Regions from separate parts of the Homo sapiens genome. Here region 1 is linked to region 2. The links are contacts of gene promoters, found by promoter capture Hi-C in blood cells and fetal thymus (Javierre and others, 2016). All regions are on one chromosome and are shown on one strand. Each heading gives the region's core, a stretch centred on a gene start or on the middle of the fragment in contact. The rest is flanking DNA. Distances are from core to core; before and after follow the strand shown. Region 1 overlaps GEMIN8 (gem nuclear organelle associated protein 8). Region 2 holds the start of TMSB4X (thymosin beta 4 X-linked).

Region 1 (6,428 bases), core at 2,480-4,979, 1.0 Mb before region 2:
GCTAAGGTGATAAACATCCAGTCTTCTCTCTCCCTGCGTCTCATCTAGAAACGATCACTAGCCTTCATCCCCACATTATAATGCTCCATAGCTTTAATTGGCTGGCTTGTGCATACCTTATGTACATGGACTTAGCAAGTGTGCATACACTTGGTGTCCACTGTGGGCCTGGACCTATCTCACACAATATTTTGGGCCCAGTAGCCTCCTCATGTAGGTAGGTATTTAGCAAATACTAAGTAAATACCTGTTGGGTAGCAGATTAAACATTTGAAGATTTCTCTTGAGGATAATAAACACTTTGGTGTCCACCCTCCACCTCCTTTCATTTTGTAGGCATCAACATCGAAAGCTACCAGGCCTTGGTATTCTCATCCGGTATATGCAAGATACTGGCAACATTATCATCAAGCAATGGCTTGGATGCAAAGCCATCACAATGCCTACAGGAAGGCCGTGGAATCCTGTTTCAATCTTCCATGGTACTTACCTTCTGCGCTTCTTCCCCAAAGCTCTTACGATAATGAGGCTGCGTATCCTCAGTCCTTCTATGACCATCATGTGGCCTGGCAGGACTACCCCTGCAGTTCTTCACATTTCAGAAGATCTGGGCAGCATCCACGTTACAGCAGTAGGATCCAGGCATCCACAAAAGAAGACCAAGCTTTGTCCAAAGAGGAAGAGATGGAGACTGAGTCAGATGCAGAGGTAGAATGTGACCTGAGCAATATGGAAATCACTGAAGAGCTCCGCCAGTACTTTGCAGAGACCGAGAGGCATAGAGAAGAACGACGTAAGTTCAGGCCTCTGTCTCTTCATGCTTCCTTTCCTTGCCCTGCCTTTTACATTTTTTTTCTCTAATATATAAAGTAATTTTATAATTCTTCATTGGCTAGGGTAATATTCCAAATCCAGTCCTAAGCCTGGAAAAGCTATGGGGATGCTGTACCTTGCTTATGTTAGTTTCTGGAGTTGTTTTAGTATAAGACATTTTTTTGTTCCAGAACAAAGCTTATCCTAATAGTAGTTCTACTATTTATTAACCATTAGACACTCTACCAAATGGAGTGTGTATGCATGCATGCTTGTGTGTGTGCGTGCTCTGATCTACACAGCAGTCCCTCAGAGTATTAAACTCATTTTATATATGAGGAAAGTGAACCTTAAAAAGGTTAATTGACTTGTTCCGTGGTACACAACTAGTAATTTGCTGTTAGGATCCAAACCAAATCTGCCTACCTCTACTTCCTGTACTGCTTTCTGTATACTAGGACTTGTCCCTGAGACTGCTAGGTTCCTAAAATACTTTTGCCATTCCTCTGGGACACATCTTGGAGATGTCCTTGGTGCTAGAGGTCCCAAATCTTAAATAGCATGAACCTAAACAGAGTAACGAAATGCCTGGCACTTACAACTTTCCTGTTGGTTCTGCATTGAGGCCCTGTCCATGGGGTCAGAGAATTATGATAAAGGTCTTATATCTTCAGTCAAAAACAGGAATTTTCTTTTTAAATTTCTTACCACCTTACTAGAAAGAACTAGAACAGCTTTTGTGCTCTCCTATTAAAATTCACCAGACCATTTCTAAGTACCTCTAACTGAGATACAAATGCTTCTTTCCCTATTATAACCAGTATTCATTCTCAATTTTGTTTTAAGTGAGGCCTAATTGTATGACATTTTACCTACAATTTTCCAATGACACAGAAGCGTAGAAACCTGGGAATGGGAGTTTCATTCCTGTCTGTCATTGTCAGCATTTTCCTAATGATGAATTAGCTTTTATTGATCCCCACTGGATGCCAAGAACTGAGCACTGGGCTTTGTATAAAATATTATATCCTTTAGTATCTTCGTCCGTGATTCTTCACTAAACTACTTGTTCAGATTTTTTTGACTTCCTTTCTTTTGTTTAAACTGTGTACTTCTTTAAGCATATTAGAAAGTATATCCAGCCAGGTGTGGTGGCTCACACCTGTAGTCCCAGCAACTCGGGAGGATGGCTTGAGCCCAGGAGTTTGAGGCTGCAGTGAGCCACGATCACACCACTGTACTCCAGCCTGGGTGACAGAGCGAGACCCTGGCTCAAAAAAAAAAAAAAAAAGAAAAGAAAAGAAAGAAAAGAAAAAGAAAAGAAAGAAAGAAGTATATCCAAACAAATACTTTTAAGACAGTACTTTCTATTACACACAGAATACTTTTGCTTGATCTCCAGAAATAAATTTTACCCTTTTTAAAAATATAGATACGAAACAACCATTAGTCTAATATATACAACAAATGAGAAGCATTGGAGCATGTCCATGTTTGGGTTGGAATGCTGTTTGTTACAGCTTTTGACAGAGAAAATGGGATGGAGATCGAGTTTATTACTCTTGTCCTTACCAGAAAGTAGAATAACATGTTTTGCCCACTAGAGGTTGATACTTTTATGATGGAAATTGTAATTATGGATGGAAGCAAATCCCAGTCATCTCAAAGGTGACTTTGAATTATCTGCTGGTTTAAAATAAACTTGAGTTAGTCAATAAAAAGTGGATATGAATAAAATAAAGATAAAACAATGAAATGTGTCCTTGCACCAAAGAAAAAATGTGAACGGTTCAGTTACAGATATTGTTAACAACCATCCCTATTCCTCCCTCTTGCCATTGTTAGGTAGAACTCTAGGTAGGTAAACAAAATCATGAAAATTACCTGCTAAGTCATACTTGCCACTTAATATTATTTTGAGTGAATAAATGAAGTCTTTCAGTGTGAATTAGAAGCCTTAAATCAGAGGTTGGCAAATCTTACCCATAGAGTGCTACACTTGCAGTGATTCTGTGGGACATTTTACAGAATGAGCTAGGCCTTGTGTGCATTATAAACTTGATAAGCTTCATCTCTGTGTTTCATATTATTTCCAAATCTGTCTAGTTACTTTACGGCTCCAAATTGCACTTTCATCATCTGGGTTGAATTGTATCTCCCCAAGAAAGATACAGTGGAATCCTAACCCCCAGTTCCTCAGAATGTGACCTTATTTAAAGACAGGGTCTTTCCAGAGGTAATTGAGGTTAAGTGAGGTCATTACAGGGATCCTAATCCTATGTGACTCAGGTCCTTATAAAAAGGGCAAAATCCGGACACAGAGACAGACACACATGCAGTGAAAACACCATGTGAAGATTGACATTATGTCGCCACAATCCAAGGAACATCCAGAAGGTGGGAGAGGCCTGGAACAGATCCTTCCCTAGCACCTTTAGAGGGTTTATGGCCCTGCCAACACCTCGATTGCAGACTTCTGACCTCCAGAGCCATGAGACAATACATTTCTGTTGTTTTAAACCACCCAGTATATGGTACTTTGTTATGGCAGCCCTAGGAAAGGAGTACAATCACCCTGGGAGAATTTTCTTTGTCCCCAAATGCAATCTGTGACTGGGACATAAAGTAAACCCACAGTTCTTGTCATCTGTCTGAAAAAACTGTATTACTTATTTGTTTTACTGTGATCTAGATAGCAAACCATCATAAAAGGGAATTTTATGAAAACCCTTGCAACTTCCATCTTGAACCTCATTTTCCAGTATTCATATTATTGCTGGCAACAGTGTATGGAGGCAGCTGTGGCAGAACTGCTTGAATCACAGAGGTCCAGCCTCACTCTACCACTCGCTGATTAGAGGTTCTCGTCCTCCTGTAAGCCCCCTGCCTTCACCATTCTTTGCCTCAGTTGCCTCACCTATGAAATAGGATCCTAATTAGTGGGTAGTAATTATGAAGAATCCCTAATGGGTAGTAATTGTGAAGAATCCATGAGATAATATGAGAAAAGTTATAGAATGGTGCTTGGTACCAAGTTGGTGCCCAATAAATGTTATTGTTACAGTTAGTTGCTAGTAACCCATCCTTTAACATGGATTATTAACCATAAATTGGTTTTTCTCTGATACCGTTTGCCTTGATTAGTGCTTGATTGAGATTCTGTACATATATATATATATATATATATATATTTTTTTTTTTTTTTTTTTTTTTGAGACAGATTCTTACTCTGTCACCCAGGCTAGAGTACAGTGGCGCCATCTCAGCTCACTACAACCTATGCCTCCCGGGTTCAAGTGATTCTCCTGCCTCGGCCTCCCAAGTAGCTGGGATTTCAGGCGCCAACCACCACACCCAGCTAATTTTTTTATTAGTAGTAGAGATGGTGTTTCACCATGTTGTCCAGAGTGGTCTTGAACTCCTGACCTCAGGTGATCCACCTGCCTCGGCCTCCCAAAGTGCTGGATTATAGGCATGAGCTACCGCGCCCAGCTAAGATTCTGCATATTTTTAATAAGATGTTCTGTGACTTCAGAAAGGTCATATTTCTGCTCTGGGTGGCACCTTTCAAACTTTTAAACTGATTTAGAATATTAAAGACATGAAAGAATGAAAGTTTTGGTGTCTATCAAATTTAGCAATTAACACAGTTTTTAGTTCTGTTTCAAGGATATTCTTGCTTGATAAAATTTAATGCAGTAAAGTACATGGACTGGGAAAATTAACCCACTTCAATATTACTAATAATGTCCCTAAACAAGCTTTCAATTCTTTGTATTTTTAAAATGTGTAGTTACAGCATGATTCAAAACTACTTTTCTTAGCGTCTGTGTCATGCTCCTACAGCCTTCCCTGAATGCATTAGCTGGTCCCAGGGAGATGTGAGAATTGTCTGGTGAGGGTGAGAACAGACTGTGGTGTCAGACTGGAATCTAAAGACTTCGTCTATATTAGAAGCAGCTGCCAGGGCCCGATCTTGCACCAGTAAGAAAATAATGGGCAATAGATCACTAGCATTATTTTTTTCAGCAGCACTTTTGGTGAGTACAGGATGAACAACTGTTCTTCAAGCGGTAATGAATGATGGAATTCATATGTAAGTAATCTGAGTGCCCATGGCGCTTTCCAATTCATTACCTTCACCAGAAATTTTCATGGAGGGTTAGTTACATACACTGTTGGAAAAAGCTTTAATAAAGAGATAAGGGACCTGGGTAGTATGAATAATTGGTTCAAGTTTTTTGTTTCATTTTGCTCTCAAAACCACTAGAAGCTACTTATTCAATAAGGACATTTTCAGCTTTGAACATGAATGCTTTGAAGAACACAGGATTTTAGAAAATGTTACTAGCAAGAGGAAATGTCACTAAATTTGAAAGATTTAACTTTTCAGTATTATTCACTTCCACAGGAACATACAAGTTATGCAATTCATCATCGCCTGAGTCTTGTTTAATATTTTCTTAGGATAAAGGCCTTCAGATTGGACAGTATGTTCTTTTTTGTGATTGCTACTCAGATTCCAGATAGTCTCTACTTTAACATATTTCAAGGATAAAAAACACCAAAAGCTTGACTAGGATAAGAACTCCTTTTGTACAGTGGGAACATGCATGCTTTTGATTATGTCTGTCATCATTTCCTAACAAGATATTTCCGTTACTTAAAGCTTCAATGGAAAATAACTTATGAGAAAGTTTACAGTTATGAAGTTTTAAAGGTCAGCTGTGTTTTCAATTATTTCTTAGGAAAAATGTTTATTATTAGGTTAAGAAAAATACCATTTTGTAGTCATAAGTGACCACTGGTCGAGACTGCAAGGTTATATTGCTAATACTTAGAGGGAAAATGAGTGGAAGTCACCCTCAAAAGAGAGTAAGGCCCTCTGAAACAAACACCACCACTGTTTTCTCGGGTTTGAGCCAATCAGGTATTTATGACCTATGTTTTGAGGGTGTTGGCTCAAAACAGGGACATATTCTAAAAGCTTAAACCCCATTGGGAAGAGGAGACAAAATGAAATGTAAAGTGACACATAGAAGAAGAGTGTCTATGGTGTGGTTCATGGTTATACATGCACATGAGGGGTAGAGCCAGTGACCCAGGCAGTCAAAGGAGGAGCACCGCGGGGCAGCTGTCAAGAAGTAAGGTATGCACTAGGCCAATTTGAGGGATAGGGTCAATTTGGAATGAGAGAAAAAAGGACTTAGTTCACTCCCGGCTTAGACACTCAAAGTGCTGTTCTTACCAGAGAGCCCAGATGTGGTTTTCATATGCCCAGATGTGGTTTTCATACGTTTGAGGGGAGACATCTGCTCCATTACACTGTGTCCATCTGAGTGGGAAGGCTGAGACTGTAGTTTTCATAGTGAGCCTTTAGTCAGTCAAACCTAGAGAGAACCCGGTGAAGTTTATGGCCCAGTATTTAGTGAGCTGTCTTGCTTTAGTCAATGAGGTTGAAGGATGAAATTGCAGTGATTGAGCACAATCCTGACATGCGTGTGTGTTTCATCTGGTGCAGATATTCACAGGTGCACAAAACCGATCAGTGAGATGATACGTGTTAATGGCTGTAGAAAAGTGGAAAGGAACATGAAAATGCACTTCTGTTGTAA
Region 2 (6,655 bases), core at 582-3,081:
AAGGGGCAGCACAGTCATTTAAACTTGATCCAACCTCTTTGCATCTTACAAAGTTAAACAGCTAAAAGAAGTAAAATAAGAAGGCAATGCTTGTGGAATGTACAGTGCATATTGGCGGCGCACGCCTCATTACGATTCGCCTGCTTGCTTCTCCTGTTCAATCGCTGTGACCAGAAAAAAAAAAAAAAAAAAGATGGAGGGAGATGATTAAAGGATTCAGTACAGACTAAAGGGCTTTCATTTAAAGCATCTTTTCAAATCATAAACATTCTACACGGTATTCCACAATGGAATAAAATATGTATATTGAATATACTAAATAGAAATACATTTTAATGGATAAATGTTTGTATATTAATATGGCATATTAAATATTCCATTACTAAATTACTAAAGCCCCGTGTTTGTTGGCTGCAAAACCATTTTTAATTAACCTTTGCAAGCCACATTCATCAACTGTCGGCTCTTCCCCCGCACTCCCCCCTCCCGAATTCTTCCCGCGGCCGCTCCCAGCCTCCCGCCCTCCCACCGGCCGCTCCCACCCAGCCTTTCTAAAGATGGGGGTGGGTCGGAGCTCACTTTCTTTGGAAGGCAGTGGATTTTTCTCTTGCGTCTCTGTCTTCTTCAGTTTCGACTTATCGAATTTCTCGATCTCAGCCATATCGGGTTTGTCAGACATGGTTGCGGAGGAAAAGCTGCAGGGAGCAAGCCAAGAGCGAGCGTGAGGAAGAGCCACCCGCCCCGCTGTCTCTGGGCTGGGAACTGCACTTCTGCCCTCCGACCCGCAGCCTGAAAAAAACCCTTCTCGCTCTCCTACTGCTGCCGTTCCGCGCTCACGAGCTTCCTCTTTCTACAGAAAAAGAGGCGACACCCCCCGCGCCCCTCCTCCCCATATTTCAAAACGCTGTGGACCAAAGAGGGCGGATGCCTCTCAAAGCCGAATCTTGCAGAATAAAGGAAATTGACCACTGCGAATTGTTAATTACAGCGTTTAAAATTAAAGGCTGGCTAGGACAAGGAAAGAAGAGGAAAGCCACTTCCAAATTCAAGTGGGAAAAATCGGCAAGAATTCCTAAAATGGAGCCCAGGTAGGAAAAGCGTTTCCATTTCCTAGCCGCGGCCTCTCCGCAAGGATGCGGGCCGGATCCGGCTTTCTAGTCCTCTCACAAAGGCGGCGGCCGCGGCTGGAGCTTCCGACCACCGCCCTACCGGCTTCATCGCCCGCGTCACAATGCAGCCCCGCACACAAAGCGGCCGCCGCGCGCCCCGAAGCCGGTCTTGCCTGCTCTCCCGGCAATTCGGCATCCCTGGCACACATGTCTCTGCAAGAAGGACTGTAAAGATGTCATAGCACAGCCCCGCCGCCGCCAGGCTGCACAGATGCAGCCCGCGCAGCCGTCCGAGGCTGGGAGGAGGCTCGGGGCTCGGAAGATGAACCTCAGAACAAAGGACTTGTCTATTCCCCCATATCTCAGCCTCCAAGGCAACGCACAATACCTTTGCGGGCAAACACTAAGAAATTTTTTAATGTCCCCTCCGAGCGGCACGGCAAAACGCCAGTTTTTCGGTTTTGTTCTTAAATCATCGATTTCCCCACCCCATTATCCAGTATCTAGGGTGTTTCGCATCCCCCCAGCTCCCCAAAGTAGCCTTCCCGGGGAGAACCACTCGGGCTCGGATTTAGGGAATGCCTTCACAGGGACGCGGATGATGAAAGGGCGGGGACGGAGGCAGGACGGCAGGAGGAAGGAGGCAGGGGCCCTGGGGCTCACCGAAGCGAGGCGCACGAGTACGAGCGAAGTCTGGTCTGCGCAGTGGCCACCACCGAGTTGTCGGGCGGGGTGCGGCGGGCGCAGCTTTATGGGCGCTCCTATGTAAATGAGGTGATGTCACCCGCCGGCCCGCTTAACTCCTTCGCGCCGCGTCTCGGAACGGCATCCGGAGGCCTGCCGGGCTTTTGGGGAGGGGAGCCCCACCCCCACCCGGGGTCCACTAGTGCATGCACCCTAACCACAACGATGGCGAAAAAAATGAGCAAAGCACCCTCCAACACTTCATAACACATTTTCCCCTTTTACGTTTATTTCATTACGATGAATTTTTGCAACAGCAGCGCAGAAATTGCTCTTGGGGACCAGTGCATAATAACTAAGGGTCGGGGTGGCACCTGGGGTGACAGGCATTCTTTTATTTCGAAACTGCCTTTGTCTACTGTGGACATCTCCACACAAGGGCGCGGTGTCCCTCCCTGGAGGGCCTGGCCCGCTGCAGGGGTACGATTCCTGTGACTCAGCTTTCAGTCCAGTGGCGGGCATGCGCCCCACCCCGGGCCTCTTTGTCTTCCTCGCTGGCGTTCCTCTTGCCTTGGGTGGGACGTAAAGCACCCTTAAGTGATTTTAAAAGAGAAAGTTTCATCACTGAAACATCCATATTGTTTCATCAGCATAATTTTTGTGAGCACTCAACAGTAGTATTTGCTGGGTGTAAGGTAATTTGGAGTTTATAGGGTAAAACACCTCCCTCTTAGCAAAATAAGTCAAGCTCAAGCTCTGCCATTGACTTTACTGCCGGACAATGAGGAAGTTCTTTACCTTCCTCTTCCTTATTTTCATAAATTTTAAAAGTGATGGCTAAGGAGGCCAGCGTTGAATTCCAAAGACTACAGTTACATTATCTCTAATGTCTTAAGATGAAATTCAAAAATCAAATTATATTTTCAAGGGAGCGTTTCCAGCACTAGGACATCGCTGAAGTGCATCTGCATCTGGAAATATAAGAGATTCGGGTAGAGGGAAGCAGTTTTCAAAATGGCACCTGACTCTGTGAATACCAGTGACCCACTTGCTACTGAAAATTAGTTACAAATACCATGCCACGCGCCTGCAAATGGCGTGTGAAAGGAAAAAGACTCGCCGGTTATAAAGAGGCCTAGCTGTGATTATTTCTAAGAGACAAGGCAGTGTGCAAAATATTCCTTCTCCTTTTCCGTGGCCTGGGGAAATGTTTTTAGAAACCCCTTGCTAATCATTTTTATGGCACAGGCTTTTGTCTCGCTGGGGATTAGAGTCAACCTTATATATAGACCCTTGAATGCCACTGCCAGCAGCTTGGACTTCCCCGTTTCTCCATCTACTTGACTTCCTTTTTCCTGGGGAGGAAGGAGGTGGGGGTGAGCAGGGGCAGGTGACCGTCTGGTCCCCTAGTTAATGCTCTGCTGGGTGGCTGCCTTCCTGGCCTCCGAATGGGGCACTGGACCTGTTCGTGCATGCACCAAATGTCACCTGTCTGGTAACAGCCCCCCCGCCCCTGTTCCATGTTGGGAGTCTACTTCATCGTTGAAACACAGAAAAGATCTTGCAGGGTGCCTTTTCGCCCGTTTAGCTGGCAGCTGCCGTTGTACCGACACCGTTTCCGCAGGTTCTGTGATTCTGTTTCCCCTCACCCAGCTGCTGTCGAAAATCATTTCTTTCCTCCCAATGTCTCCTGATGACAAAGGAGTGCCACTACCTTCTCCTGGCTTCTTCTCCCAAGGGCCTTTCCTCAGAAAGGGTTAGGCCTCACTGAAGCAATTCTCCAAAGGAGATGGACGAATGCAAACTTGGAAATGTCTGGAGAAGTTTTCCAGTGCGGTAGCAAGCAGCCTTCCACTGTGCTGAGACACTGATGGAGGGCAGGTGGAAACAGAGAGGAAGAGAAAGAGAGACGACTGCTTAAAGGAAAAGAGTTCCCATGATTGGGACTGACCTGCCAACCGGTCAGGAGACCTAGAGAGACAGGAAAGGGAAGGGTGGTGCAGATACAAGGAAATGCAAACCAAAGGAATATTCTTAAAAGTTGCATGACTCTGGCCATGTGAATGAATCTTTCTGTGCTGGAGTTTTCTCATCTGTAAAATGGGTTCATTGCAACACCGACCTCACAGGGTTGTTGGGAGGAGTAAATGCTTCGGACAGTGCATGACAATTAGTAAGCTCTTTCTATTGTTATTATTCGTATGATTTAGGATGGAAGGTTGAGGAAAAATAATAAAATAATTGTCTTAGTGTTTAGAATTAATTAAAAATTTTAGGTGTCTTGATATTATTTCTCCTATAGAGACATTTATATATTATTATATATTATTTCTATATAATTAATACATATGAATATATATTATTATTTTCACTTACAAAATGTTGATAGAAGATCTTTTGGTAGTTTTACAGCAAATAAAACATGACAACTCCTGTCGGTTGATATTTTCTAAGAGTCAGGCATTGTAACGTAAGTTTTACATTTGTTTTTTCCTTTCTTTCCCACCGCCTTTCCATAAGAAATTTCCAGATGGGGAAACTGAGGCTTAGAGAGCCATCATTGGGTTACCTCAGCTGGTAGCCACTCTGTTATATATGCCAAGAGCATGTAAAAGTCCTCCCCACATCCTCTTAGTCTGTACCCGAGAATCACCAGGAAGAGTGTGAGGAGCTAGGCAGTTGTGCTTTCCACAGCGTCTGGTGGATAGTAATTGCTCAATAACAGTTCTCCCACTGCATTGAATTGATTTTCTTTTCTTTTCTTTTTTTGAGACAGTCTCGCTCTGTCACCCAGGCTGGAGTGCAGTGATGTGATCTCGGCTCACTGCAACCTCCACCTCCCGGATTCAAGCCATTCTCTGCCTCAGCCTTCCATGAATTGATTTTCTTAAATGAGGGAGGTACTTGAACTCAGGTGTTGAACCTGTGACTCTAATTGTCTTGCTTTCTTCTCCCCAGATAATTAAATCCATTTAGTCTTAATGTTCTAGATGTCAGAATGTTCCAGGATCATCCCTGCCCCAGGCAGCTACATTTATAAGTCTGTTAGTATGTGCCGGGCACAACTACCATTGAGGTAGCAGTTTTCGATCCCAATTAAAAAGACAGAGGCACACAGGGGCAAAGGAACTGCTTACAATGGGTGCAGACATTGTTCCCAGTGAGACCCCCCCCCAAAAAAAAAGGCCTTGGGTGACTCCGGGTTGTATGGTGCACTCTGGCCTTGGGGCTCTCTGGTGAAAGATAAGTAGAGTCCACTTTGCGCCTGTCCTGCCTTCCTCATCTCACGGGCCACAGCGCCCAATGAAAAATGTGCCAACATTGCCTGCGTTGAAGGGCGGTTCCCCTCCAACCCTGTGTCTGGTGGAACCCGGAAAAGGTGGCAGGGGACGCAGTTTTATTTTGCTTTCCAGGGCGGGCCTGGGATAGAGTCGTGGCTATTTCTAACCATGGAGAAGTTGGCTAGAAGTCTGAATTCATGAAAATGAGTTCTATTAGTTTGAACCTATTTAATTTTGTGCCAAAAACTTACCAGAAGAAGAGAAGAAGGAAGAGGAGGGAGGAACGGAAGAACAGGAACAAAGCTGAGCTCCCAGCTCTTGCTTTCTCAAGCCCAGATCCCTTTGTCTGAGTTTCAGGGCCTCCTACCATCTGCCCCACCTGCCTGCACCCCACGTTCCCCTGTGGCCCCTGCAGTCTCCATCTGGTCTCCCTCACAGCAGAGCCCTCCTTCCACTGATTGGAATCTAAAACCCCTTAAAGACACAGCCTAAGTCCCCCCTGTGAATAACAGGAAAATGAAAAGAGAAAGGATATTTAGTAGACTAGCTATATCTTGTAACCTCAGCTATAAGCCCTTTTAAACAATATCTGATTCCATTCTTACCCTATGGAGTGAGTACTAATATCCCCATTTTACTACTAAAGAAATTGAGGCTCCGAGAATTTAAGCAATTTGCTCTTAATCAAATGCCCAGGTCTGTCTACCAAGTCTTTCCACCGAGGCCTATCTCTGCCTTATCTTTAGTTGAAGTATCTTTCTCCAGGACTCCCACCCAGAGCGGACCCACATGGTGCAAAGAGGAAGGCGAGCAGGGGGTGGCAGGAAAGCAAAGAGGAGTGAAAGAACACCCTCGCCTGTGCTCAGTGCTGAGTGCCGTGCTGCTAATTGTCCTGTTTGCTTTATTGATCCGATGGAAACTTTAGAGCCAAAAGAAATGTAAAAGGGGATCTCATTCAACCCAGTTTCCCTTCTGTGGCTTGAATTTTCCTCTACAACATCCCCTCCAAGTGGTTACTCAGCCTCCACACAGCCAGGGAACAATACGGAAGCAGAGAATCTTCGAGTTAACGCAGGGGGCAATGAGTAGCTTAGCTTGGCAGGCACTTGCGTAAAATGAGAGAAAGTGACAGGAAATAACGCTGGGAACCAGGCAGGGGCCAGGTTGTAGAATAATGATAGTAACAATCATGGCTGTACCCATAGCAGTAATAACAGCAAGTGCTTTCTGAGTGCTTTCCATATACTGGGAAGCTTTCCATGTAGTATTTCCCGAATCCTCACACAATCCTATGACAGTGGCACCATTATTCTCCTCATTTTGCAGATGAGAGAATTCTAGAGGGATTAAATAACTTCCCCAAGAAAACACAACGAAAGCCAAAGGCAGGATTTGAACTCAGACTGGCTGGCTCAGAAGCCGCCTCATTTAAACACTACTCTTCTCTAGAATCCTAAGGCCTTTTAAAGGCTTTGTTCCATACGCCAGATAAGGGTAAAGTTATATTCTGTCTCAATCAGCTGTCTAGCTTTTTCATCATGTAGATGTTTTTTCTCTTTTTTTCTTTTTTTTTTTTAAGAA

The links. The method cuts DNA at HindIII sites, captures the fragments that hold promoters and counts their contacts. A CHiCAGO score of 5 or more calls a contact.
Region 1: a fragment that was not itself captured here is called in contact with the fragment with the promoter of TMSB4X in region 2 in 1 of 17 cell types (monocytes); the score reaches 5.5 in monocytes.

Annotation. Positions count from the first base shown.
Region 1 is chrX:14,014,443-14,020,870 of GRCh38, reverse strand. GEMIN8 (gem nuclear organelle associated protein 8) reads left to right here. Exons shown (of 5, transcript NM_001042479.2): 4 at 337-793. Among named protein-coding and RNA genes, the nearest start is that of GEMIN8, 12 kb to the left of the region's middle. The HindIII fragment of the contact is 1,695 bases long and covers 2,882-4,576 here.
Region 2 is chrX:12,970,286-12,976,940 of GRCh38, reverse strand. It overlaps TMSB4X (thymosin beta 4 X-linked), which reads right to left and starts at 1,831. Exons shown (of 3, transcript NM_021109.4): 1 at 1,773-1,831; 2 at 580-695; 3 at 1-164. The coding sequence starts at 679. The coding sequence ends at 130. RefSeq lists enhancers at 274-1,112, 1,952-2,791, 2,915-3,034, 3,055-3,314, 3,325-3,394. The HindIII fragment of the contact is 8,223 bases long and covers 1-6,329 here.